Regions from separate parts of the Homo sapiens genome. Here regions 2, 3 and 4 are each linked to region 1. Evidence: promoter capture Hi-C in human tissues and cell types (Jung and others, 2019). All regions are on one chromosome and are shown on one strand. The core of a region is centred on a gene start or on the middle of the fragment in contact, and the rest is flanking DNA. Distances in the headings are between cores, read along the strand shown. Region 1 holds the start of THBS2 (thrombospondin 2). Region 2 overlaps DYNLT2 (dynein light chain Tctex-type 2). Region 3 overlaps WDR27 (WD repeat domain 27). Region 4 overlaps LOC105378146 (a long non-coding RNA gene).

Evidence for each region. The method cuts DNA at HindIII sites, captures the fragments that hold promoters and counts their contacts. A contact is called where the count stands out against the background at its distance.
Region 2: a fragment that was not itself captured here is called in contact with the fragment with the promoter of THBS2 in region 1 in 1 of the 25 tissues and cell types used here (IMR-90 fibroblasts).
Region 3: a fragment that was not itself captured here is called in contact with the fragment with the promoter of THBS2 in region 1 in 1 of the 25 tissues and cell types used here (small bowel).
Region 4: a contact is called between a fragment that was not itself captured here and the fragment with the promoter of THBS2 in region 1, in 2 of the 25 tissues and cell types used here (H1 embryonic stem cells and heart left ventricle).

The regions. Positions count from the first base shown.
Region 1 is chr6:169,250,030-169,256,917 of GRCh38, reverse strand. It overlaps THBS2 (thrombospondin 2), which reads left to right and starts at 3,072. Exons shown (of 22, transcript NM_003247.5): 1 at 3,072-3,194; 2 at 6,112-6,185. The coding sequence starts at 6,134. RefSeq lists enhancers at 3,486-3,997, 3,998-4,510, 5,023-5,536. The HindIII fragment of the contact is 15,923 bases long and covers 1-6,888 here.
Region 2 is chr6:169,734,155-169,741,042 of GRCh38, reverse strand. It overlaps DYNLT2 (dynein light chain Tctex-type 2), which reads left to right. Exons shown (of 4, transcript NM_174910.3): 4 at 748-934. The coding sequence ends at 858. Among named protein-coding and RNA genes, the nearest start is that of PHF10, 13 kb to the right of the region's middle. The HindIII fragment of the contact is 6,025 bases long and covers 1-5,701 here.
Region 3 is chr6:169,687,364-169,694,251 of GRCh38, reverse strand. It overlaps WDR27 (WD repeat domain 27), which reads left to right. Exons shown (of 26, transcript NM_182552.5): 2 at 5,240-5,435. The coding sequence starts at 5,247. Among named protein-coding and RNA genes, the nearest start is that of WDR27, 11 kb to the left of the region's middle. RefSeq lists an enhancer at 1,125-1,625. The HindIII fragment of the contact is 7,100 bases long and covers 1-6,566 here.
Region 4 is chr6:168,925,122-168,932,009 of GRCh38, reverse strand. LOC105378146 (a long non-coding RNA gene) reads left to right here. Exons shown (of 4, transcript NR_136250.1): 4 at 4,166-4,269. Among named protein-coding and RNA genes, the nearest start is that of LINC01615, 230 kb to the left of the region's middle. The HindIII fragment of the contact is 7,573 bases long and covers 1-6,171 here.

The DNA of each region.
Region 1 (6,888 bases), core at 1,823-4,322:
TTATATGCACTGGGAAAGCACAAATCCATGCAACTCACTTTATTGCAGAGGTGTGGAACCGAGCCTGCGGTATCTCCAAGGTGTGCCTGTATTAGTTCCCTGGGCCCGCTATGATGAAGTATCACAAACAACACACATGTATTGTCCCATGGTTCTGGAGTCCAGCAGTTTTAAATGCAGTGTGTGGCAGGGCTGCACGTCCTCGGAATGTTCTGGCAGAGGCCCCTTCCCTGTCTCCCACAGTTCTGGTGTTTCTGGCAGCCCTTGGTGACCTTGGCTAGTGGTTGCATCACTGTGGTCTCTGCCTCTTTCATCAAGCGGAGCTCGCCCTGTGTCTCCGTCTTCATATTCTTTATTCTTATTAGAACACTAGCCATTAGATTTGGAGCCTGTCCTACATCAGTTCGACGACATCTACACTTGATTTCATCCACAAGCACTGTGGTATTTCCAGTAAGCTCATTCACAGGTTTGGGGTGGATGTGAACTTGGGGGGACATGATTCCACCTGCTGCGTGTCTGTCCCTCATCCTCCCGCGCACACATGTGATGATGCTTCCCTCAGCATCGCTGGCTTTCCTGACGAAGCCTCTGACTGCTTTTTGTTTCATCCTCACATCTCCCTTCCTCCTCACCCCCAGGGGGCCCAGGGAAGATGCTGACCAGGGGCTGTCCCCTCTACTCCCCCTCTGGTCCCCTGCACAGTGGGCCCATGAAGTCCCGCCTCACCCTGCCAGGAAACTCTCTGTGACTTCCATCGTCTATGAAGCCCATTCCATGCACCTGGCCTGGGTGCCGCACCAGGAGCCTGCTGTTCTTTGCACCATGAACACCTACCCACTCTCTCTGCCTGAAATACTTTCTCAACTGGGGACACCCCATTCACGGGCCATGTTCCAATCGGCTTACCTTCTGTCTCCTCTAAACAGACTTCCCTGATTCTGGGCTGCCAGATTTTACAGAAGGAGGCCCATCTTCTCTGTACCTGCCCATCGGCACGTGGAGTCATGAATACATACCTTCCTGCTCCCCAGTGAGTGTCACGGTCTTCACCGCATGCTCCTGAAGTGCTGAGCAGCTGAGCTGCCTGTCTTCAGCTTTAATCAGGAAACACGCATTCTGTGGACTGAGGAACAGGAGAGGCCGTGGCACGCAGAGTAGGGGATGCCGCCCTCCATGTTCTGGCCCCAGGAAAAACTAACCTGGAGGCAGAAAAACTCAAACTGATGAATGGATAATTATCCACTGAAAATTCTTTAAGGGGAACTGGTTTATACTTTTTTTGAATTTGAGATAACATCAATCTATTTAAACTACTTTTTAATTCAAATGATGACTTTGTCCCTAATAGCTTAAAAAGCAAAATAACGTACCTTAAACATGACACATACACTCTTGGAGGCTTTTGTCTGTGCATGTGTCGGAAACTGATGTTTGCCAAGTGATAAATAAACAGGTGCCATTAGGAAAAACAGAGGTTTTCACAAATGAAAGCTCCTTCCCTCTCCCACACCCGCTCGCATATCCTCCCTGAAGACAGAGGCCAGAAAGTGAGGCTTGCTCTTCATGGTGCCTGCCGACCTCTGCAGCGCTGGACCCCTGTGGGGGAATGCCAGGAGGCTTAAGAGACACTCCCCTGCCACAGACACAGTAAGGGTTGTGTCCACAGAAATTCGCTTTAATGTTCTCTAACTAGGACTTGACGGATCCATGGCCAGGCTGACAACTCCACACAAACGTGAAGGAACCTGACAGGCAGGTGCCGACATGAAGCAGGTGCAGGTGGCTCCGGGCAAAGCAGCAGCTCCCCAGTCACCATCCACCCCACCTGGGGAAGTAGCACCTCCCCCATCCAAGGTCCACCCCAACCCAGGAGAAGCAGCAGCTCCCCTGTCTGCCATTAACCCTGACCTGGGAGAAACAACACATCCCCAGCCACCTTGCACACTGACCTGGGAGAAACAGCCTCTCCACCATCCACCTTTCACACTGGCCTGGGAGAAGTGGCACCTCCCCCATCCACTGTCCAGCCCAACTTGGGAGAAGCAGCCCCTCCCCCATGTACCATCAACCCCCACCTTAGAGCAGCAGCTTCCCCTTTCCACTGTATACCCTGACCTGGGAGAAGCAGCCCCTCCGCATCCATCGTCCACCCTGACCTCTGAGAAGCGGTGCCCCCCACCCCCATGCAGAGTGCACCCTGATTGCGGGTGATGCCTGAGGTGTGGGAGGGGCGGGGGTTAGCTGCTGCCACTGCTTCTCGTTCTCTCGAGTCCTTGCTCTGTGCCTGCACGTCAGGTTGTTCCTGTGATGGGGCCACGTGCAAGTGTGCACCAAGGGGACTTGGCCGGGTACTGTACGTCCACTGGGACACACCCTTCTACGGGTATTGCACGTCCACTGGGAGACGTCCTTCTAGGGGATCCTCACTGAGCAAATGAAGCAGAATTTGGGTAAAAATGAATTTTCCCAAAGCTGCAGTACAGCTTTTCAGTCCTCTAACTGCCTGAGATAAATGTTGGCAACTTCCTTTTATATTAAATTTCATTTTTGTCACATAATACACTTGATTATTGACCATAATAACTTTATTAATATACAGACTGATTATTGATACTCACCGATGTATTTCATGTGTTATTGAGAGTCACTCATTTGGTTTAGAAAGACCAATATCACATTGAGTAATTCGAAACATATTTAAGGCATAGAACTTGCATTTTTTTCTCTTAAGCAAAATGAGGAGTTCTAGCCAATCTTGCTAGTGTTATTTATAGCATCTTATTTCCTGAGAGAAGACAGGAAAAGTGAGTCCCTGCCTTCCCTCTCTCCGTCTGGCTCCTCCCAGGCCTGTCTGGCAGGGGCCGGGGTGCAGGAGGAGGAGACGGCATCCAGTACAGAGGGGCTGGACTTGGACCCCTGCAGCAGGTACTCGGAGCAAATGGTGAGATCAGAAGGGGGATGATGTCATTCCTTCGAAGGAATGAATTAAACGTGCTTCCTCGTGTGTCTGATTGACAGCCCTGCACAGGAGAAGCGGCATATAAAGCCGCGCTGCCCGGGAGCCGCTCGGCCACGTCCACCGGAGCATCCTGCACTGCAGGGCCGGTCTCTCGCTCCAGCAGAGCCTGCGCCTTTCTGACTCGGTCCGGAACACTGAAACCAGTCATCACTGCATCTTTTTGGCAAACCAGGTACGATTATTTCTTAAACTCAATCAATTATTTAATGGTGCTCTAATTTTAAGAAATTAGAGTTCTCGAACTCTAAGAAGCGGAGAAGAAAAAGGAGCAATTTCGATTCTTAACTTAAGGTGGGTGGTGTATCTATTAACACTAAATGGCAAGTGTTTCTTCACGTGGTGTTTCTACTGCCCGCTTGAAGAGCAAGGCACGTGGCCGCTCCTCAGCTTTTCCTCCGTGGCTGTGCTTTCACCAGCCGGGCACCCCTTCCTCTCTGAGGGTTGTGGCTGCTGCTATTTCAATGTATATACCTGCCTGGGAACCCGGGTAAACGCTTTATGTTTTCAGTTTCCGAAGAAGAAGATTCCACATGAGAGTTTGTTATTGAGGAGAGAATTAGAAACAACTCCCGGAATATCTGAAAAGTAACTGGAGATTAGAGAGAGACTCTGATTGTTAACATCATTATTAGTAGATTAGAGAGAGACTCTGATCGTTAACATTATTAGTAGATTAAAGAGAGACTCTGATTGTTAACATTATTAGTAGATTAAAGAGAGACTCTGATTGTTAACATTATTAGCAGCTGAAAAGTGGTTTTGAACATAACTAGAGAGTATTTGTGGTAAGTCTATGGAAAATCCTGTGACTGCCGGGACACACAGCGACTTTTAACAGTCTTGGGGCAGTTTGCATATGAAAAGCGAGCTGGCAGGTTGCCTGGCTACCACTTAAGGAAGGTGGGTTTGGCTGCCCAGGACTGGGAGCTGAGCACCCAGGAGTCTGGTGTTTAATCAGACTGCTGTTGGTGGTGGACGGCCGGTAAACAATTAGCTCTCTGCAAAGCTATCTTTTACTTTGATTGTTCATACGAAAAGAGTTTTAAAAGACCTTTGCAAATTCAAACTACATTCTGCTGCAGACAGGCACCGAAATCTTTCTTTTGGAAAAACACAAGCATAAACGTGGATGTGTGGCGTGCAGAGGCTGGGGCAGGGGTGAGCGGCACTGGCTCATCCGTGGCTCCATCCATGCATGCCCGGTGTCCCTGGATGGGCTGAGGCCAGGTAGCCTGGCTGCTCATCCTTCCTGTGGGATGGAGCCTCACTGTCCTTTGACAATCCGCAGCAGGGGATGCTTTGTTAGCCTCCTGCTCTTGTAAGAATCTACCTCAAGGCAGAGACAGTAGGATCTGGTTTCGTCAAAGGAGTTTGATTTAGTTTTTCTAACCTGTCCTTATGAAGCTGGGCATCCAGAACTTTCGCATTTACCATCCTGTTCTTGGCTGGCCTCTGCAGGGCCAGCCCCACACAGCTGTCCTTAGGGGACTGCGACGTACCCGGCAGTGTGGGCTGATGAGGTGGGGAGGTGGGAAGAGCCTGCCAAGGCTGTACCTGAGCTGTGTATTCTAACACCGTTCTGTGGTGCTTACTGCATGCAGGTACTGTTCTAAGCTCATGGCCAAGTGTTCGCTCCTGTCATTAAACCCTCTTAAGAGCTCCATAGAAAGGCCCTATCAGCACCACCATTATTACTGCAGCTGCCTCGGGCAGTTAGAGTAGAAAGCGCCCCAGACCCAGAGGCACATTCTGCTCCGGTAACCCATGCCTGTGGCTCGCTGGGCTAAGTCAGCCCCTGGTGAAGTTTCATTTGCCGAATTCATCTCTCATGACAACCCGATGAGGTGGGCATTTTACATGACGCTACGTTTCATTCTACGGATGAGGAAACTGAGACAGAGAAGTTAAGTAAGTTTCCCTAGGTTGCACAGCTGGTGCTCAGCATTGCTCAGCCTGGTGCTGACTCCGGCCGCAGGCCGTGCTGCTTCCGGAGCCAGGACAGATGAAACAATCACCAAGGACCCCTGGGGCGGCACTGGGGGGAGCAGATGGTTTGGGGGGGGGGTCCCAGCAGCAGATGGGTGGGGGGTCTGCAGGTGCTGCCAAGCATTTCTCTTCTTCTGAGGAATGTTTCTCTATTCCTGGAAGGTGAGGATTTCCAGGTTACCAAATGTTGTTTCTGGAGAGGGAGAGTCCTTGGATTAACAATGAGAAGTTAACGGCCTTTGATATTCTAAATATGGGAAGAATTGGGGTCTCAGTCTTCCCTTCAACCTAGAGCAGGGTGTGACCAATTGCTGGAAGGGACCTGGGGAGCCCTGGGACCCTCAGGCTCATGCTCGCCCGGAAGAGGAGAAGCTGAGATCCACAGGGTTAATCGCCCAGCCGGGCTTTGGACCACATCTCCTGACTTCGGGGCCAGCCTCCACTGAGCTGTGCCAACTTAAAATCCCCAAGAATGGAAAAACAGGCCTGCAGGAAAATAAAGAGGCAGGGTCAAAATGATGGCTAAGTCAAGTGTTCTGTTGTTTTGTAAGTATAATTCACCAAATTAAGTTTATTTGTAACTTTTTTTTACAGTTGATATTCATTCTATTTAATTAGGTTATGCATAACTGTTTTTTGCTGGATATTTACACAAAATGCGTTCACAGATTATTTTTGTCAGGCTGGATATTTTTCTAAATTCAAACTTTCTACATCTAAGTCCTGTCTACGAGTCGTATGAACAGAATTACTCCAGGCAAGCGCTGAACTTGCCCATCTTCCATTTGCTCATCTGTAAAATGAGGACAATTAGAGCAGCACATACCTCCCAGGCTATTATGAAGATGAAATAATAGGAATATTTAGAACGTGATGTGCAGTGCTTGCCGGCAAATGCTAGCTCAACAAATCTTATAGTTAGAAGAATCCTGCTTGAAGAGTAAATTTCCTCCTTCGCTCTCAGTTTGCCACAAATCCAGTTGGTGCTGAGTTTTATATGCAAACTGTTATTCAATGGTCATGTGAGTCACTGGGCCAGTCTCGCTCACAGGCAGGGTTGCAGCTGTGGACTCATCACTAACAAGGGTTTCCTGTATTCCCAGGAGCTCAGCTGCAGGAGGCAGGATGGTCTGGAGGCTGGTCCTGCTGGCTCTGTGGGTGTGGCCCAGCACGCAAGGTGAGTGTCCTCAGAGCCTGTGGTCTCTCTCTGGCTTGTGAGATATGGCTTAGCTGCAAGGGGAGAGATGACAAAATAAAGTGTGTGGTTGGACAATCTTACCCGTGAGGACCTTCTAGCTCCTTTATAAATCAAATAGTAACTTACTTCTGAGCCAATATGACATGAGATAATTTATCTTTGGAAAATTCAGGTGTTAGAGAAAAATGCAATTCCACCTAGAGTTGCACAGTTTATCCTTTTTTCTATAGAGGATGTTCACAACACTGCAAGTATTTGGTGTTTGTTGAATTCTTTTTGCTCCACTTTCTTCCTCCTTTAAATATTTTCCCATGTGTTTACTTTTCTACAGTATGATTTTTAATGACCACATAATATTTCATCACAGATAAAGCCTGATCTTTTTCAATCAATTCCCACTTAGATTGGTTTATTTTCATTAGCATAAATGATGACACAAAAAATATTGACGTGGATAAATCTTAAGTAGCATTTGTGATTATATCCTTTGGATAGGTTACAAAATTAGAATTGCTGAATCAAAGCTTTTAATTCTTGCCAAGTAACTCTATGGAAAGTGGTCCATTGCCCACTTCTGTCAGCAACCCTGTGTATTATCCTGTTCTAATTTGCTAAATATTAGATGAAAAGGAAGGCTTTGGCTAAACTTTCTGTTCAGTGTATTACTTTTTTTTTTTTTTCT
Region 2 (6,888 bases), core at 1,440-3,939, 480 kb before region 1:
CTGAGGTCAGGAGTTCAAGCAGCTTGGTCAACATGGTGAAACCCCATCTCTACTAAAAATACAAAAATTAGCTGGATGTGGTGGCAGGCACCTGTAATCCCAGCTACTCAGGAGGCTGAGGCAGGAGAATCACTTGAACTCAGGAGGTGGAGGTTGCAGTGAACCGAGATCACGCCATTACACTCTAGCCTGGGAAATAAGAGTGAAACTATGTCTCAAAAAAAAAAAAAAATTGGGGCCATTTTAGATCCTCCACAAAGAAGTGGGCTGGAATCAGATCACATATGGGTTTGTACACAGAGAAAAGGAGTTAGAATTGTCCGTAACAGCCTACTTGTATAGTTACTGCCATTTCTTCATTTCAAGGCAAGGCCCTGACAAACCTCTTTGGCTGAAAATCTTTAAAGGGTGGGAAGACTTCCTTATCATGGACTACATGGCAGAGTCATACTGTATGCAGAGCCACTACATCCCCATTCCCAGGGGCCTTCTGCTCCTGGCCCTGGAAACACAGCTAAGGGAGCCTCTCTCTGTTTAGAGAAAGGCCAGCCTCCGGTAAAGAAGAAGGATGGGCTGGGGCAGCGTCATTCTCCAGGCTCTTTATGAAAGGGAAAACCAGACAAATTACATCTTAAAAATAATTTCTGAGATACTGATGCATTCATTTTTAAAAAACTAGTGTAGATTTGAAAATTACTTCTTAATATGTTCAATCTAAAGTTGGTCTTTACAAAATTTCTCTCACAGATTGCCAGCAGATGGATCTGGGACATTGCATGGGACAGCTGGGTCGCAGCTAAACACGAAGCAGAATCCTACGTGGCACTGGTCTTGGTGTTTGCCCTTTATTATGAATAGCTCATTACAGGTACTAAGGATTGTTTACTTCCGAACTTTTCAAAAATAAATGAAATTTACATATTTGTAAACCTCATAATATTTCTGATTTGCTATATTCTTATTCTCATTTGAGGCCTTTCAATTGTATTATTTTAACAACAAAGTAGAAGCCAGATTTTTATATTTATACTTACTGTTATATTAACTAACATAATATTATGCCAAAGTAGTATAAAAGGTGTATGCATGTGTGTCTGTGTGTGTATATATGTATGTATATACAAATTCTTATAGTAGAGTATAGGGAAAATATCATTTTTGTAAGATTTAAGAAAATGATAATTTGCTACAGGAAATTAAAATGCAACCTTGTAAAGTATCAAATTCAGTAGATGTTAAGATAGATTTTGGAAATTTCTAATGATATTTTAATACTTTGTATTCATTGTTTTGAAAGGAATTACCAAGTTTGAAAGAAAGATGTTATTATATTTCATAATTCCCTAATATCCTCCCGCTCCAGCCAAACTGCTTACAAGTGTGTAGTCAATTTACTAATCTATTAGGCTCTGTTAGGCTCTGTGAGCCTTCTAGGATCTTTTTTTCAGATGCAAGAACTGAAAATTCATATTAATTGTTTAAAGAAATGAGGAAAATTTTATTTCCCAGGGATTTGATCAAGGATCCAGGTTCTCTCCAACTTCCCATTCTCCCCACAGACTTCCACGTACATTCATTTTGCTTGACAGAATTTAATCATGTTCCTATGACTAGACCAGTTGTAATTCCCTCCTTAAGATTGGGGCTGGAGCCTACCTTTTCTGAAGCGTGAGATCATGTGAAAAGTGTGGCTATTTGCCAGCCACAGTGGCTCACTCCTATAATCCCAGCACATGGGAAGGCCAGGGTGGGAGGATTGCTCTAGCCCAGGAATTTGAGACCAGCCTGAGCAACATGGCAAGACTCCATCTCTTAAAAAAAAAAAAAAAAAAAAGGAGAAAATTGTGGATCCAGTGTACAAATTGGGACTCTTCTAGCAGGGAGGCAGGGTGTGCACTTGTGGGAGGCAAGCAATACCTGTGATAATCAGTATGATTTTCATCATTACAACCAGAACTGAAAACAACCATGTCAATATTGACAAGTAAAAATACCTATTAGTTGAATTATCTATAAACAAGGAGATAAAAATGGCAGAGAAGGGTTTTTTTTTCCACTTAGGTTTTATAATGAGTTGGTGTCAGTTTCCACTTATGAGAGTTAAGGAGCTGAAATATGATTCCTGCCTGAATAGATCCAAATGGAGTTTGGCTGCGGGAGTGCATGAAAGTTTGGCCAGAATTATTCTTAGAAAATCACTCCAGCTCCCTCCTGCTGCCTTGTGAAGAAGGTGCGTTGCTTTCCCTTTGCCTTGCGCCATGATTTTAAGTTTCCTGAGGCCTCCCAGCCATGCAAAACTAGGGGTGGGGCCAAGACGGCCGACTAGAAGCAGCACCATGTAGGAGGCTCCTATGGGAAAAAAAGCATAAGCATGTGAATCCTTCACCAGCAACCAAGGTATCCAGGTTCTCTCATCAAAATTGACTAGAAGGCTGGCATTACCCACACAGAGAAGGAAGAGCAGTGTGGTGTGGCAGCCCACCTGAGAGCCACATGGGGAAGGGGAACCCCCTTCCCCCAAGCCAGGGGAGGTGGTGAGTAAGAGTGCTACCCAGCCAGGGAAACTGTTGTTTTTCCATGGAACTGTGCAACCCACAGATCAGAAGATTCCACTTGCAAACCCACGCCACTGGGGCTAGCATCACAACCCTGGAACGCGCAGATTCGTACAGCCTCTCAGCTGGAATCTGCTTAAGCTTACCCAATTCCCATGAGGAAGGGTGGCCAGCACTGGCTGCAGCTGCCTGATGTCTAAGCCATTTGAACTCCTTGTGGGAGGGGCAGCAGCCAGCACTGGGACTTGCAACTGCCTAACATGCTAAGCCCCCTGGGTAGGGGAAGGGCAGCACCCATTTCTATAGTTCCAGGCTGCGCTTTTCCCCTGCTGGAGCCAGGCAGGCTGGACAGCTTGGTCCCATGACTTGTCCCCACAGCCCAACACACCAGCTGTGGCAGTCTGCGGCCAGAGTGCCTCTTCAGGTCTAACTCTGACCCATCCTTCCTCAGTGGCTTTCCTGCAGGATCTCCAATAACTCCAGCCAGAGGCTCAGGGACAGAATTTGGATCTCCCTGGGCCTGAGACCCTAGTGGGAGGGGTGGCTGCAGTCTCTGTGGACCAGCAGGCTTAGCCTCTCCTCCTGGTAGTTCTGAGTAATCCAGGCAGCCCAGACAAGTGGGTTTCCCCCAGTGAAACATACCCTCTCTACTAAGGGACAAATTGCTTCATTAGATGGGTCCTGCTCCCTGTGTCACCCAACTGGGTGAGACCCTCCAACAGGGGTTGTCAGATACCCTATACAGGAGTGATCCTACTGGCATCAGGCTGGTGCCCCTCAAGGTCAGAGGTCCCAGAAAAAGGAGCAGGCACCCATCTTTGCTGCTTTCCAGCTTCCTTGAGTGACATCTCCAGGTATAAGAGCAAATCAGATGAGTAGGGCCATTCACCCCAGCAAACTGCAGCAGCCCTACAGAAAAGGGGCCTATTTAAAGAAAAACAAAGAAGCAGAAAATGACAACAACAACAACAAAAAAGGCCCCCACAAAAACCCCATCTAAGGGTCAGCAGCCTCAAAGACCAAAACTAGACAAACTCATGAAGATAAGAAAGAATCAATGAAAAAAATGCTGAAAACCCAAAAGGCCAGAGTGCCTCTTTTCCTCCACATGATCACAGTGTCTCTCCATCAAGGGCACAGAACTGGACGGAGGATCAGAGGGATGAATTGACAGAAGTAGACTTCAGAAGATGTGTAATAAAAAAATTATGATCAACTAATGGAGCATGTTCTAACCCAATGGAAAGAAGCTAAGAACCTTCATAAAAAGTTAGAGCAATTGCTAACTAGAATAACCAGCTTAGAGAAGAACATAACCAACCTGATGGAGCTGAAAAACACAGCATGAGAACTTCGTGAAGCATACACAAGTATCAACAGCAGAATCGACCAAGTGGAAGAAAGGATATCAGAGTTTGAAGACCACCTTACTGAAATAAGATATACAGACAAGAATAGAGAAAAAAGAATGAAAAGGAATGAACAAAGCCTCCAAGAAATATGGGACTTCATAAAAAGGCCAAACCTACGATTGATTGGAGTAGCAGAAGGAGATGGGGAGAATGGAAACAAGCTAGAAAACACACTTCAGGATATTATCTAGGAAAACTTCCCCAACCTAGGAAGACAGGCCAACATGTAAATTCAGAAAATACAGACAACACCATTAAGATACTCCATGAGAAGATCAACCCCAAGACACATAATTGCCAGATTCTCTGAAGTTAAAATGAAGGAAAACCTGTTAAGGGCAGCCAGAGAGAAAGGCCAGGTCACATACAAAGGGAAGCCCATCAGACTAACAGCCGACATCTCACAGAAACTCTATAAGCCAGAAGAGATTGAGGGTCAATATTCAACATTCTTAAAGAAAATAATTTTCAACCCAGAATTTCATATCCAGCCAAACTAAGCTTCATAAGCGAAGGAGAAATAAAATCCTTTCCAGACAAGCAAATGCTGAGGGATTTTGTTACCACCAGGCCTGCTCTGCAACAGCTCCTGAAAGAAGCACTAAATATGGAAAGGAAAAACTGGTAGCAGCCACTGCAAAAACACACCAAAATATAAAGACCAATGACACTATGAAGAAACTGGATCAACTAGTGTGCAAAATAATCAAATAGCATTATGACAGGATCAAATTCACATATAACAATACTAACCTTAAATGTAAATGGGCTGAATGCCACCAATTAAAAGACACAGACAGGCAAATTGGATAACGAGTCAACACCTGTCAGTGTACTGTATTCAGGAGACCCATCTTACATGCAAAGACACACAGGCTCAAAATAAAGGGAAGGAGGAAAATTTACCAAGCAAATGGAAAGCAAAAAAAAAAACAAACAAAAAAACGAAACAACAACAACAACAACAAAACAGGGGTTGCAATCCTAGTCTCTGTCAAAACAGACTTTAAACCAACAAAGATCAAAAAAGAAGGGCACTATGTAATGGTAAAGGGAACAATTCAACAAGAAGAGCTAACTATTCTGAATATATATGTACCCAATACTGGAGCACTCAAATTCATAAAACATATGCTTAGAGACCTACAAAGAGACTTAGACTCCCACACAGTGATAGTGAGAGACCTTAACACCCCACTGTCAGTATTAGACAGATCAATGAGACAGAAAATTAACAAGGATATTCAGGACTTGGAACTCAGCTCTGGATCAAGTGGACCTAGTAGACGTCTACAGACCTTTCTACTCCAAATCAACAGAATATACATTCTTTCCAGTGCCATATGGCACTTATGCTAAAATCAACCATATAATTGGAAGTAAAGCACTCCTCAGCAAATGCAAAAGAACTGAAATCATAACAAACAGTCTTTCAGACGACAGTGCAATCAAATTAGAACTCAGGATTAAGAAGCTCACTCAGTACCACACAATTTCATGGAAGTTGAACAACCTGCTCCTGAATGACTCCTGGGTAAATAATGAAACTAAGGCAAAAATCAAGAAGTTATTTGAAACCAATGAGAACAAAGGTAATATACCAGAATCTCTGGGACACAGCTAAAGCAGTGTTAAGAGGGAAATTTACAGCACTAAATGCCTGCATCAGAAAGCTAGAAAGATCTCAAATCAACACCCTAACATCACAATTAAAAGAGCTACAGAGGCAAGAGCAAACTAATCCAAAAGCTAGCAGAAGACAAAAAATAACTAACATCAGAGAAGAATTGAAGGAGACAGAGACACAATAAACCCTCCAAAAAATCCATGAATCCAGGAGCTGGTTTTTTGAAAAAAAATTAACTAAATAGAAAGACCACTAGCTAGATTAATAAGAAGAGAGAAGAATCAAATAGACACAATAAAAAATGATAAAGGGGATATCACCACTGACCCCACAGAAATACAAATTACCATTAGAGAATACTACAAACACCTCTATGCAAATAAACTAGAAAATCTAGAAGAAATGGATAAATTCCTGGATGCATACACCCTACCAAGACCAAACCAGGAAGAAGTTGAATCCCTGAATAGACCAATAAGAAGCTCTGAAACTGAGGCAGTAATTAATAGCCTACCAACCAAAAAAAGCCCAGGGCAAGAAGGATTCACAGCTGAATTCTACCAGAAATACAAAGAGGAGCTAGTACCATTCCTTCTGAAACTATTCCAAACAATTGAAAAGGAGGGAATCCTCCCTAACTCATTTTATGAAGCCAGCATCGCCCTGATACCAAAACCTGGAAGAGACACAACAAAAAAAAAGAAAACTTCAGGCCAATATCCCTGATGAACATCAATGTGAAAATTCTCAATAAAATACTGGCCAACCGAATCCAGCAGCACATCAAAAAACTTATCTACCACGATCAAGTCGGCTTCATCCCTGGGATGCAAGGCTGGTTCAACATATGCAAATCAATAAATGTAATCCATCTCATAAACAGAACCAAAGACAAAAACCACATGATTATCTCAATAGATGCAGATTGATAGGGCTGACAAACTTCAACATCCCTTCATGTTAAAAAACTCTCAATAAACTAGGTATTGATGGAACAGATCTCAAAATAATAAGAGCTATTTATGACAAAACCACAGCCAATATCATATTGAATGGGCAAAAGCTGGAAGCATTCCCTTGGAAAACCAGTACAAGACAAGGATGCCCTCTCTCACCACTTCTATTCAACATAATATTGGAAGTTCTGGCCAGGGCAATCAGGCAAGAGAAAGAAATAAAGGGTATTCAAATAGGGGCAGAGGAAGTCAAGTTGTCTCTGTTTGCAGATGACATGATTTTATATTTAGAAAACCACATCATCTCAGCCCCAAAACTTCTGGAACTGATAAGCAAC
Region 3 (6,888 bases), core at 1,767-4,266, 440 kb before region 1:
GCATACTCAGCCTCCCAGGTTAAAATGATGATACTCCTGCCTCAGCCTCCTGAGTAGCTGGGCTTACAGGCGTCTGCCACCACGCCCGGCTAATTTTTGTATTTTTAGTAGAGAGGGGGTTTCACCATGTTGGTCAGGATGGTCTCAAACTCCTGACCTTGTGATCTGCCCACCTCGGCCTCCCAAAGTGCTGGGATTACAGATGTGAGCCACTGCGCCCGGCATGACTGTTACATTTAACAAGGCACAAATACATGTTAATTTTATTTGTTCTACGGTGTAGTTTAAGTCCATTCTTTCTTTGTTAACTTTCTGTTCTGATGACCTTTCTAGTGCTGTCAGTGGAGTATTGAAATTCCCCAGTATTATTGTGTTGCTATGTCATTTCTTAGGTCTAGTCATAATTGTTTTATGAAGTTGGGAGCTTCTGTGTTAGGTGTGTATATATTTAGGATTGTGATATTTTCCTATTGGACTAATCCTTTTATCATTGTATAATGTCCCTCTTTGTCTTTTTTTTTTTAAACTTGTTGCTTTCAAGTCTATTTGTTTTGTCCTATGTAAGAATAGCTTTTCCTGCTTGCTTTTTGTTTCCATTTGTGTGGAATATCTTTTTCCTCTCCTTTACCTTAAGTTTATGTGAGTTCTTATGTGTTACATGAGTCTCTTGAAGACACCAGATACTTGATTGGTGTATTTTTATCCATTCTGCCATTTTGTATCTTTCCAGTGGAGCACTTAGACCATTTACATTCAGCGTTAGTATTGAGCTGTGGGGTACTGCTCTATTCATTATGTTAGTTCCTGCCTAAATACCCTTTTTTCATTGTGTTATTGTTTAAGGGCCTGTGAGATTTACGTTTTAAGGAGGTTCTTTTTTGGTGTATTTCAAGGTTTTGTTTCAAGATTTAGAACTCCTTTTACCATTTCTTGTAGTGCTAGCTTGGTAGTGGCAAATTCTCTCAGCATTTGTCTAAAAAGACTTTATCTTTCCTTCATTTGTGAAGCTTAATTTTGCTGGATACAAAATTCTTAGCTGACAATCATTTTGTTTAAGGAGGGTAAAGATATGACCCCAATCCCTACTGGCTTGTAAATTTTCTGCTGAGAAGTCAGCTGTTAATCTGATAGGTTTTCCTTTATAGATTACCTGATGCTTTTGTCTCACAGCTCTAAAGATTCTTTCATTCTTCCTGACTTTAGATAACCAGATGACTGTACCCAGGTCATAATCATTTTGTGATGAATTTCTCAGGAGTTCTTCGAGAGAATATCAGCTGCTGTGTTAGAAGGGGTATATAAGCTTTCCCTAAGTTGGCGAGGGGAGGCATTCTGGTTTCTCAGGTGATGAGCAGGGCCTTAGGGTTCCCAAGAGTTTATGTCTTTTGTGTTTGGCTACCAGGGTGGGTAGAGACAAACCATCAGATGGGGGCAGGGTTAGGTGGATCTGGGCTCAGAGTCTCCCTGGGCAGGGCTTGCTGCAGCTGCTGTGGGAGACGTGGGAGTGGTTCTTGGGCCAATGGAGTTATGTTCCAGAGGGGATTGTGGCTGTGTCTGACGCATCACATAGGTTGCCAGGGAAGTGGGGGAAAGCCGGTAGTGAAAGGCCTCACCCAGCTCCCATGCAGTTTGTGAAGCTGGTCTTGCTCCCACAGTGCCCAGCTAACAGCACCAGGTTTAGATGCAGACAGCCTGTGTGTGGGACTCAGCCCTGCCCCAGGCCATAAGTTCTGCACTGAGAAAACGAGCATGGCCATAAGTTCTGCACTGAGAAAACGAGCATGGCTGGCTTTCAGGTCTTGCCCCTCCCCATCTGTCCACAGTGTTGGCAGCTCCTGTGCTCATATCTGTAGCACTTCCCTTTTACCCACTCCTGATTCTGCTCAAGGAAGTTCATGCCCAGTCTAAATTATCACATAATTCAGTTGGAAGCTTCTTTCACCCTATGACCTCTCCCTAATTCCTCTGGCTGTCTTTTCTGAGGGAGGACCCCTATGAGATACAGTCAGGGATGGCTTCCCTGGACTGGAGCTGGAGACTAGGAGTGCCTACAAGGCTCTTCTCACTGCTGCTTCTACTTTTATATTTCGCTTGGCTGCCTAAATATGCTTCAGCTCTAGGTAAGGTTACATCCTTCTCCTGTGATATTGATTTTTAGATTCCCCAGTGGGGGTGTTTGGAGGCAGTTTTCCCCCCTCTCACATTTTGGGAACTCACAGTTTTTTGCCTGTCTCATGGAATTTGCAGTGGCCTGCTGCTTCTTTAAAAGGATCTGTGAATTCTTTCATTTTTTTTGGTACATTCCTGCAGTGGTTCTTGGAACAAAACTTCACAGTATGAGTATCCACATGCCTTTCAGTCCATCCTAGTGGGAGATGCACATTAGTCCTGTCTCCTAGCTGCCGTCTTCTTGCCTAACCACTTTAAAGGGTCACTGTAATAATGATAATCTATGTACTCATATATAGAAACCTGCTTATTAATGTCTACAGAAGTGGTTTGTAAACTGCAAATTGGCATACAAGTACTATTATTTGTAAAATGCTGCTGAATTCTATAGGAATTACAGAAGAGAATAAGATAATTATACTACAACAAAAGTTTATGTTGAAGAAAAAGATGGAACTCAATCACAATTTGATGAGTGTATTATTAGCATTTTTGAAACAACTATAATTTTTTATGTATTCTTCATCTGTCTCCGAAGATGTTTTATGTTTTGGGAAGCAGTGGATCTGGTGACAGCAGGTTCGTATTGTTCCCTTAGGACACATCTGCCCAGCACCTACTGCCATGCTCAAGTTACAGAGTCTACTGAGTAACTGTGGTAGCTTTGGAAGGTGTAGCTATTTTCATATGACACTCAAAGTATCTTTGCAAATATTAAAAAAAAAGTGAGATAAAAATTGTGAATTGGAGACAAATTTGCTTTAAAATAATGTACACATGCTTTTATTTTGTTTTTCTCCAAATATTGAGAATTTTCAAGCCTTTAAAAATTACGTTTTTTTAAAATTTAATTTAATTTAATTTTTTTGAGACAGAGTCTCGCTCTGTTGCCCAGGCTGGAATGCAGTGGCGCGATCTCGGCTCACTGCAAGCTCTGCCTCCCAGGTTCACGCCATTCTCCTGCCTCAGCCTCTTGAGTAGCTGGGACCACAGGTGCCCGCCACCACACCCTGCTAATTTTTTGTATTTTTAGTAGAGACAGGGTTTCACCGTGTTAGCCAGGATGGTCTCGATCTCCTGACCTCGTGATCCGCCCGCCTCGGCCTCCCAAAGTGCTGGGATTACAGGCGTGAGCGACCGTGCCCGGCCTCTTTTGAAGTATTTTCAGAAGATGATCTCGAGTGGTCCATTCTCCTTTGCTTCACTTCTCTTGTGAAATTCTGCTCCCCCCTGCACACAGGAAATTGTTACTGCTGCCCCGCCCGCAGCACAGAGGTGGTACTGAACGGTCACACCTTGCACTGGAATGTCAGACTTCTCAGTCAAGGGGCTGGGAGGCAGGCAGCGGAAGGTCCTGCTGATGAGTAGCACCCTACAGTGCTCTTTCTTTCTATGCAATTCCTGTCTGATCAAGGGTCCTTCAGACAAAGGATTCCATCCTATCAGTCTGGCCATGGATCCATGTCCTGCTGCCTCCTAAGGGCAAAATAGTTTAGATTGTGTGAAGTGCTGGGAAGGAGGTGGATGGGGTAGGGGGGCAGGGATGGGAGCCAGCTCTCAGGGGCCTCTGCTGAGACCTGGAGAATGGGAAGAGCTCCCAAGGTGCAGAGATGAGGAGGAATGGAACATGAAGATAAAGTGTGCGTGCTGAGGCAGTAAAAGCCCTGCTGTGTTGTAAGAGCTGGAAGAAAGAGTAAATAGAGTAGCAGTGGAGGGAGGAGCTGGAGAAGAGGAAGAGAAAGGCAGAGGCTGGGTTAGCAGAATCTCTCAGGGCCAGCATGAGGAGCACACGGGTGGATTTTTCGAATCCACGTGACCAGTGTGATGGCTGCATGGGTGTATCCTTTGAATCCACATGACCAGCATGAGGGCCTCATGGGTGGATCCTCTGAATCCATATGACCAGCATGAGGGCCTAATGGGTGGATCCTTTGAATCCACATGACCAGCATGAGGGCCTCATGGTTGGATCCTCTGAATCCATATGACCAGCATGAGGGCCTAATGGGTGGATCCTTTGAATCCACATGACCAGCATGAGGGCCTCATGGGTGGATCCTCTGAATTCACATGACCAGCATGAGGGCCTCACGGGTGGATCCTGTGAATCCACATGACCAGCATGAGGGCCGCATGGGTGGATCCTCTGAATCCACATGACCAGCATGAGCGCCACATGGGTGGATCCTCTGAATCCACGTGACCAGTGTGAGGGCCTCATGGGTGGGCCTTTGAATACCTACAGCGTGCATGACCCCACTGGATATTTGGGTGCTTGCCCATCACTTTCTAAGCAGGTCTGTTGTCTGTGCCTTCAGGTGCATCTATTGCCGGCCTGCAGTGGGGTGTGGGGTACAACAGAATCAAGGATGACCCCAGTGCCATTCCCACATGTTTCTGAAGTGATTATGCTGTGAAGTTAAGTGTAAAGTTGGATGAAGATCTGAAACATTTTATCTTTGTCAGTGTTTCATTAGTTTATGCTTTACGAAACATAGCCAGTGAATCACTGATTATAGAACCTGTGGTAGCTTAACTGTAATTACATACAGTGTTGTGAAATTGTTGAATCAAGCCCAGGTTAGTTATGGGAGATGCGGGTTCCAATTGCAGTTTCCTAACAACTGATTTGCTGTGGTCAATTCAGAAAATAACTTTGTGTCTTAGTCATTTCAGTAACCAACGTTTAGAACGCTAAGTGCCACAGCGCTGCACCCATGCCACATGGATCATTGTTTAGTCTTTGCCTCTCAGTAACTGTTCTCATTTGACAGTTGTGGAAGCTGATCGAGGAAGCCTAAGCAGGCTCTGTGAAGTGGGAATAGTGGTATTTGAGTCAAGGTTTGCTTAACTGGAAAGCCCGTGAGAAGAATGGAGCAGTTGAGAATGTGGAAGCTCCAGAGTTTTCGGCAATTTCTCTTCTTTTTTCTTGGGATGAGGAGAGGTGAATAAATAGGTATGATGTGGTATATGTGTGTGGTCAAACTAGTAACTATCAGTAGGTAATAGACTTTTTTTCTGTATTAAATATGATACCTATAGTCATCTTATATGTACTTTTTGTTTTCAGATTGAAGATGGAAAATCCCCAAGACATTTTCTCAAGTAATGGTGGCTGTCTAAGTGATATAGTTATAGAAAAATACCTGGTTGAATCCAAGGAGTCTGTGTCTCATGTTCAGCTTGCTTGCAGCATGCAGGACTGTGCTTTCCCTTTGGATGGAACTGAACTTTGTATATGGAACACTAAGGATCCTTCTCATCAGGTATTGAACGAGTTACATGTCCAGTGTCATGAAGGCCTTGCCCTTGTCTCTCCATGTCTTTGATGCTGTTCGGACAGCATTACCCTCTGTGGATTCAGCTACCAACTATAGGAGAAAAATATTGATAAAAACATTATATATATTTTTTTATTTTTAAATTTACTTTCATGTATTTTATAATATTTTTATATTTAGAACACAAGTGATTTGGAATTAATTTAATAAGTTTCTTCAGTAAGAAACTGATTGAAAAGGTTCATCTTAACATAATCAAGTCTCCTACATTCGAATGTTTAGATTGACGTTTCTCACTTTTTCGGTGAAGTATAAACTACTTAGAAAAAAAAAGTTCCACATAATAAGTGCATGTTGTAATGACTATAACTAAATGAATATGTTCAGGTAACCACCCCTAGATCATGCCTTTTCTCCGTCAATGCCCACTTCTCTCCTCCCCAAAAGGCAACACTATCTTGACTTCTAATACCACAGGTTAATTTTGCTTGTGATGAACTTTATATAAATGTGATTATACATTACGTACTTTTTTGTGCTGGTTTCTTTGATTAATCAGCATGTTTATGAGGTTCATCCATGTTGTTCATTTTCATTGCTACACAGTATTAGGATTTATTAGGTACCACTGTGCCGTTTTTGAAAGGCTAAAATAAAAATACATTTTTATTATAGAGTAATAAGTAGAATTACATTCTACTTATGTAAATAGACACTTTATCCTTTTTTATTATAGAATGATAAATAGAATTACATTCTACTTATGTAAGTAGACCACACTTTATCCATGCTTCTGTTGGTAGACATTTGTTGTATTTCAGTTTTTTGGCTGCTAGATTCTTTCCTATGTCTTTTGGTGCACACACACATAATTGCTGAGTTGTAAAGGATACATAAGCAGTTGACTCTTGAACAGCATGGGTTTGAACTGTGCTGGTTCACTTATACATGAATTTTTTTCAACGCAATGTGGGTCAAAACTATAGAATTTTCAGGATATGAAAACTGCATATTTGGAGGGGTACCTTTTCATATATGTGGAGTCCACACAGCCAACTGTGGGATGTGGGTGTACACAGATTTTGGTTTATGTGGGGTTCCTGGAATCAATTCCTCATGATAGTGAGGGATGTCTATATTCAGTAGATAATGCTAAGCAGATTTCCAAATTGGTTGTACCAATCTGTATTTCTTCTAATGGTGTGTGACTTTCAGTTGAACCATATCTTCACCTACACTTGTTTATTTTTATTTTAGCCTTTCGAAAAGGGCATAGTGGTACCTAATTATAATTAGTAATTCTGTGATTATTAAAGAGGTTTAGCACATTTATTGGCCATTTAGATATTGTTTTTTGTGATATATGTTTTCAAATCTCTTGCCATTTTTTTCTATTGGATTATCTGTCTTTTTTCTATTGATTTGAAGGAGTTCTTTA
Region 4 (6,888 bases), core at 1,136-3,635, 320 kb after region 1:
GTTCCCGTGGCTCCGGGGCCCAGCTATTCCACTCCTAGATTTCCAGTGCGTTCCCGTGGCTCCGGGGCCCGGCTATTCCACTCCTAGATTTCCAGTGCGTTCCCGTGGCTCCGGGGCCCAAATATTCCACTCCTAGATTTCCAGTGCGTTCCCGTGGCTCCGGGGCCCAAATATTCCACTCCTAGATTTCCAGTGCGTTCCCGTGGCTCCGGGGCCCAAATATTCCACTCCTAGATTTCCAGAGCGTTCCCGTGGCTCCGGGGCCCGGCTATTCCACTCCTAGATTTCCAGTGTGTTCCCGTGGCTCCAGGGCCTGGCTATTCCACTCCTAGATTTCCAGTGGGTTCCCGTGGCTCCGGGGCCCAAATATTCCACTCCTAGATTTCCAGTGCATTCCCGTGGCTCCAGGGCCTGGCTATTCCACTCCTAGATTTCCAGTGGGTTCCCGTGGCTCCGGGGCCCAAATATTCCACTCCTAGATTTCCAGTGCGTTCCCGTGGCTCCGGGGCCCAAATATTCCACTCCTAGATTTCCAGTGCGTTCCCGTGGCTCCGGGGCCCAAATATTCCACTCCTAGATTTCCAGTGCGTTCCCGTGGCTCCGGGGCCCAGCTATTCCACTCCTAGATTTCCAGTGCGTTCCCGTGGCTCCGGGGCCCAGCTATTCCACTCCTAGATTTCCAGTGTGTTCCTGTGGCTCCGGGGCCCGGCTATTCCACTCCTAGATTTCCAGCGCATTCCTGTGGCTCCGGGGCCCAAATATTCCACTCCTAGATTTCTAGTGTGTTCCTGTGTCTCCGGGGCCCGGCTATTCCACTCCTAGATTTCCAGTGTAGAAAAAGTCCTTCCACAAGGGTCTAATGGGATGAAATATTGGAAACAAGTAAACGTCTACGAAAACACTGGACTGTGTGAATAGTAATGCATTCATTGATGTGGTAATAAATAAACAGTGTCTACACACCTCAACCTGAATTAATCTCATGAGGAACATGTTTAACATATGAAGCCAGTCATGAAAAATGTATAATGTAAGATTCCCCTTATACACATTAAAAAAATAGATCAATATCAAATATTGCACAAGCCTCCATACATTTGTAGTAAAATACGAATAGATGTTTGGGAAGAATAAACACCAATGCAGTCAGTGATAACTTGAGGAATGGGAGAAGGCAGCGATGGAAGTGAAGCCTTTGCTTTGCAGCATTTGCCACATTTCATGTCTTCTGCTAGTGGCTTGTACTCATCTATTACCTCATTATTCATAACTGCTTTGAAATATTTCATTAGACCTTTAAATACTGTTAGTCAAAGAGACAAGAGGTTCAGCAAATGAGCAATAGATAGAAACGGGAGAGAATCTTAAATGGATAAAAAACGGGCTCCTATTCTTGGTGTACGCTCTGAATACAACATTATTTCAGAGAATAAATTGGAAAAAGTCCCCAAAACATACCACAAAATTAAAACAGTGTTTTAGTATGACACAATCAATAATGGTTAGTTGTTTGTTTTTGTTTTCATATTTATGCTTTTTTGTAACTGCATTTTAAAATATATATGCTGCTGGGCTTCACAGTTTGTTTTTTGGCACAGGATGATACGTAGCCAATGAAATAATTCATCTAAGTAACTTTTAAAAATTAATTAAAACGTGAAATGCAGACAACCTCCCCATCCAGTGAACCTCAAGGAGACCCAGCTGCTGACGAGAGCCGACCTCAGTGTCTGGTTGAAGATGTCAAGAACAAGATGTTCTCATGCATGGTTCTTGTTTCTTTCCTCCAGAAAACAACTAATTGAATTTGTCTGTGCTTGGTTTTGTCTATCTCCACCCAATCTCTGGTGCCTGTCGGGGGCTTGGCCCACAGTAGGTGCTCCCTGTCCATTAGCTAAACAGATGGCAGTGGACATGGCAGCTGATGGTGGTTAGAAGCTGGCACCTGCCAGATGGAAAGGAGAAAGCCCGGGTGAGATGCTGCTGTTCCCCGGCTCTCGGGCACCATCTGCACGCACAGCGTATCAGAGCCTCTCCAACAGCAGTCATGATTTGTACTGGAGCCGTGCAAAGAGGGAGGGTTTTGTTACTTTCATGACATGAAATGCCCAGATGTCTCTAAGTTCCTAAATAAATATTCTATTTATAACTAAGTCTAATCTTTAAAGTTCTGATACTCCCAAATATTAAAGAATGTCATGGGCCTAGACTATTACTACCAATGATAGTTATCTTGTAAGCATTAAATTCTTTTTTAACAGATGACCAGAAAAACTGTAGATGGGTCTATTTCATATCATTCCAGTTTCCAGCAGCTCCTTTCCTGAGCTGGGCCTGCAGCCACAGACCCTCAGCTCAGGCAGGAGGCATAGGAGCTGCCACCATGTGGAGCCAATGACTCTTTGTCTGAACCTACCTGTATTAGTGTGTTTTCATGCTGCTGATAAAGACATACCTGAGACTGGGCAATTTACAAAAGAGAGGTTCAATGGACCCAGTTCTGTGTGGCTGGGGAGGCCTCAAAATCATGGCGGAATGTGAAAGGCATGTCTCACATGGTGGCAGACAAGAGAAGAGAGCTTGTGCAGGGAAACTCCTGTTTTTAAAACCATCAGATCTCATGAGACCCACTCACGATCATAAGAACAGCCCAGGAGAGACCTGCCCCCATGATTCAATCACCTCCCACCAGATTCCTCCCACAACATGTGGGAATTCGAGATGAGATTTGGGTGGGGACACCCAAATAATCTTATGATTTTTCAGCCCCTGTATTATCCACATGGCACCTTCTGTTACTGATGCTTAAGGAGTGGCTTTCTCATTCCCATGGCATGTGCCTTCATCAGCTCCCTGAACAAGGGGTCAGCTCGAGGTGCACTTCCCCAGCCTGCAGGGTTTTCTCACCGGAAGCCTCAGTCTCTCTCCTGAGCAGAACATCCTTGACAAATGCCATGTAGGACTTTTTAACAGGGCCATCTTGCTTCTCCTTCTGAACATGAACACCCGGAAAAGTTGGCAGCAACTCAGATCCACAAAATGAGCAAAGGACTTTCCGTGCAGGTGATCTGTTTGGCGGCTGGTTTACCCCCACAAAGAGAGAGCTCCAACAGATGCTTCAAGAGCGCAGTGAATTTGCCACTACTGTTATTTCATCTTATTATAGATGTCTAAAAAAAGAAAATATTTTGGAAGGTGTTCCAGTCTTAATGGGAAATAAGGCCTATAAATTTAAAAAGATAGCCAAGCAGAGGGATCCACAAAGTGGCAGAAATGTGAAACCCCTTTTCCTAAATATACAGTATGTCTTTAAAACAGTACACATGCAGTATATACCACTCATTGTATATTGGTCATTGAAGAAAAAATTCAGATAGATAAATATAGGTAATTAGTACATGTAGACATATTTTAAATTATTAAAATAAATATATGGGGAAAACATCTTTGATTTAGGTGAACACTGAGCCTCTACTAAGCAGCATTTAAAATGTTTTTGAAGCATTCTTTCCTAATTCCTTTCGGCAAATCCTTTTTAAATATCTGATTCCATTTACTTAAAACCCTGCCAGTGTTACAGTATCCGCGGAAGAAGGCGTTTTCATTACTCTGATACTAAATTAAAAGCTTTCTTTGTCCTTCTGTCTAATATGGAGCACTGGCATTGCCAGCCCGGCACAGTGGCGCTGGATGACAGGGACTACACCAGAATCATGAGGGCAGCCATCCTGGGACCGAGGGAAAAGGCACAGCATTTGATTGGCGAGTCTGTTTCTTGTCTCCGGGCTGCTTTATGCTTTTCCCTCCAGCATTGTGGCCCCTCCATCCCCAAGTTTATAGCATTCTGCGAGCCTCGGGTAAGAGAGTATTTCCATCACTGGCCCTGGTGCATGAAAGCCACACTGCCAACTTGTCATTATCACCAGTCTGGGTTCCTTTCCGATGGAGTAAGGGAAACTCCAGGCCCAGACTGGAAGAAGCTTATCTCCGCCGGGGAAATGTCTGCAGGTGACTGAAGCTTTCGTTCCACCATAACACATTTCAAGAGCACATATTCACTCACCCCAACACTTAGTAAGGACCCGTTTACAGGAAAACACTTATTTTGAAGCATACGTCTCAGCCAAAAGATACAGAGTGCTAAGATGTTCCATTCCTTTTTAAGGAGATTCCACTGGCCCTTTAAGCAAGAAACGACTTCACAGTTGAAACCTTGGTTTGGAAGACTCTTGTTTCAAATCTCGGCAGCATCCAATGAGCCCTCCTCATCAGCTGATGGTGGTAAGCACCTAGGACTTGGGCCAGTAGAACGAAGGAAAGAAACACAACCATTTAGTAAAAAGGTACCATAAAACATCGGATCTGCCGTTTGTGGCTGTGGGTGTTTTGGAATGTGCACACACACGGGGTTTTCCTCTCCCTGCCACCGCCTCCTTCTCTTCTCACTCTTCACACAGAAGTAGCTGCATATCAAGAATTGGTCTTCCCAAAGCCTAGGCTTTCAGGAGAACTTGGAAGTTTTCAGACAAAAAAGAACGGTGTTTGTAAACCAGGTAAGTCTTGGAAAGGGCATCTTGGAAGTGGCTGGGATAGAAAAAGGACCCCGGTGCATGCCAGCACCATGACAGACGGAGACCCCTCCTCCGTGTGCGGAGGGGAGGTCTAAGCATTTGGAGACAGTTGGAGACAGTCCTTTGCTTCTTGGCGTGAAGTAAAGAAGCATCAGACAGGAATATAAGGTGTGTTTAGGAAAACCGGGTCAACAGACACCTTCACAAAATAGTTCTGGGGCCCAGCCTGGTGGGTGTTGTAACTAGAAGGCCAAGCGAGCAGAGAGATGTTGTGGCCTCAGGAGGTCTGACCGAGAGGATGAGGTTTGGAGCCAGGCAAGGAGTTCAGATGCCAACTCCCTTCCTAATGCTATGTCGCCTTAGGCAAGTTACTTCACGTCTCTGTTCTTAAGCTTCCTCATTTGTAAAACCACGCATCCCTCTGAATTTATTGTAAGGATTAAATGAGTTAATATTTACCAAGCATTTGAAGCAGTGCCTGACACTGGGTGAGCATTATATAAATACTAGGTAAATAACCTATTGGCCCCGTGCAAGTCTCCTAAACTGAGGCATACATCTGAAGAATAATTAAAGTTAGGTTTACCCCAATCTTAGTGAAATTTGAGCTCAGAAATACAAAGAAATAGCATTTTCAATAATAAGGCTAGCGATAGTTATTGCATACTAAATACATGGACTGAGATTTATAGGCAATATCACTGCAGATACAATGGCTTTGGAAGGTTTCCTCTCGACGATGCTTCAGTCTTTTAGTTGTGATGTGAGTGTGTGTGGGGTGTGTGTGCATGTGTGTGCACTGTGCACACTGTGCGTGGTGTCACATGTGTACGTGTTGCTGTGCGTGCGTGTGTGTGCATCATGCACACTGTGCGTGCGTGTGTGGTGTCACATGTGTATGTGTTGCTGTGTGTGTGCATGTGTGTGTGCGCATGTGTGTGTGTGCATTGTATCTCGTGTATGTGTCGCTGTGCTTGTGTGCATGTGTGTGTGGTGTCACATGTGTCTGTGTTGCTGTCCTTGTGTGCGTGTGTGTGCACTGTGCACACTGTATGTGTGTGTGGTGTCGCATGTGTACGTGTTGCTGTGCTTGTATGCATGTGTGTGTGCATTGTGCACATTGTGTGTAGCGTTGCATGTGTACGTGCTGCTGTGTTTGCATGCATGTGTCTGTGTTGCGGGTGTGTGTTCCTGCATGCGATGGTTCCCATTGCTGGGCTCATTCTCAGCCCCTGAGAGACAGTGCTCACAGATAAACTAAAATTCCCACTCCAAACAATTTGGTCAGAATCAATTTACATATGAATGTGTGGGTAACGTTTCCTTAACCAAAAATGTGAAGAATTGTGCTATTCTTTTCATGCTAACAGGCAATAATTAGCAGTGAACTCGTTAAGCTAGTTTTGTTTTCCGCTTGTGCTTGTTTACGTCTTTATTGGTCAGGGCCTAAAATGTGCCTCAAGAACTGCAGAAGAGCAAAATTCGGCAGAGGGAAGAGGAAGGAGCAGAAGATGGAAGGAGACCGGAAGGATGTTGTCAAACACATCAGACTCAGAAGTGGCGCCCGGCCTGCCTGTGTTTTCACGGAAACCATTCCCAGTCTTTCTTCATGGCACCATTGCAGCCTCCCCTTTCACAGAGATGGTTCCTACCTAAGGAACTTGCCTTCGGAAATGGAAGACACGAGGGAGGTTACAGGTGGGTCCCGAGACAGATACTGAAGATAGAGAACTGGAAAGGGTGAAGCTGAAGAAGACCAGCACATTTGTGTTCAGAGCTGTCTGTTATCATAAGAACAGGCTCAGGCTCCTGCAAGAACAGGCTCAGGATCCTGCTGCCAGAGACTGAGGTACAGTCGTTTGGCTTCTTAACAAAAGCAATTCAGCGATCAGTTTTTTTTTTTTTTTTACCATACCCATGTGTGAACATGTACATATATATTTGTTTAATTGTATTAAAAGCCCAAATGTCCAACAATGATAGACTGGATTAAGAAAATGTGGCATATATACACCATGGAATACTATGCAGCCATAAAAAATGATGAGTTCATGTCCTTTGTAGGGACATGGATGAAATTGGAAATCATCATTCTCAGTAAACTATCACAAGGACAAAAAACCAAACACCACATGTTCTCACTCATAGATGGGAATTGAACAATGAGAACACATGGACACAGGAAGGGGAACATCACACTCTGGGGACTGTTGTGGGGTGGGGGGAGGGAGGAGGGATAGCATTGGGAGATATACCTAATGCTAAATGATGAGTTAATGGGTGCAGCACACCAGCATGGCACATGTATACATATGTA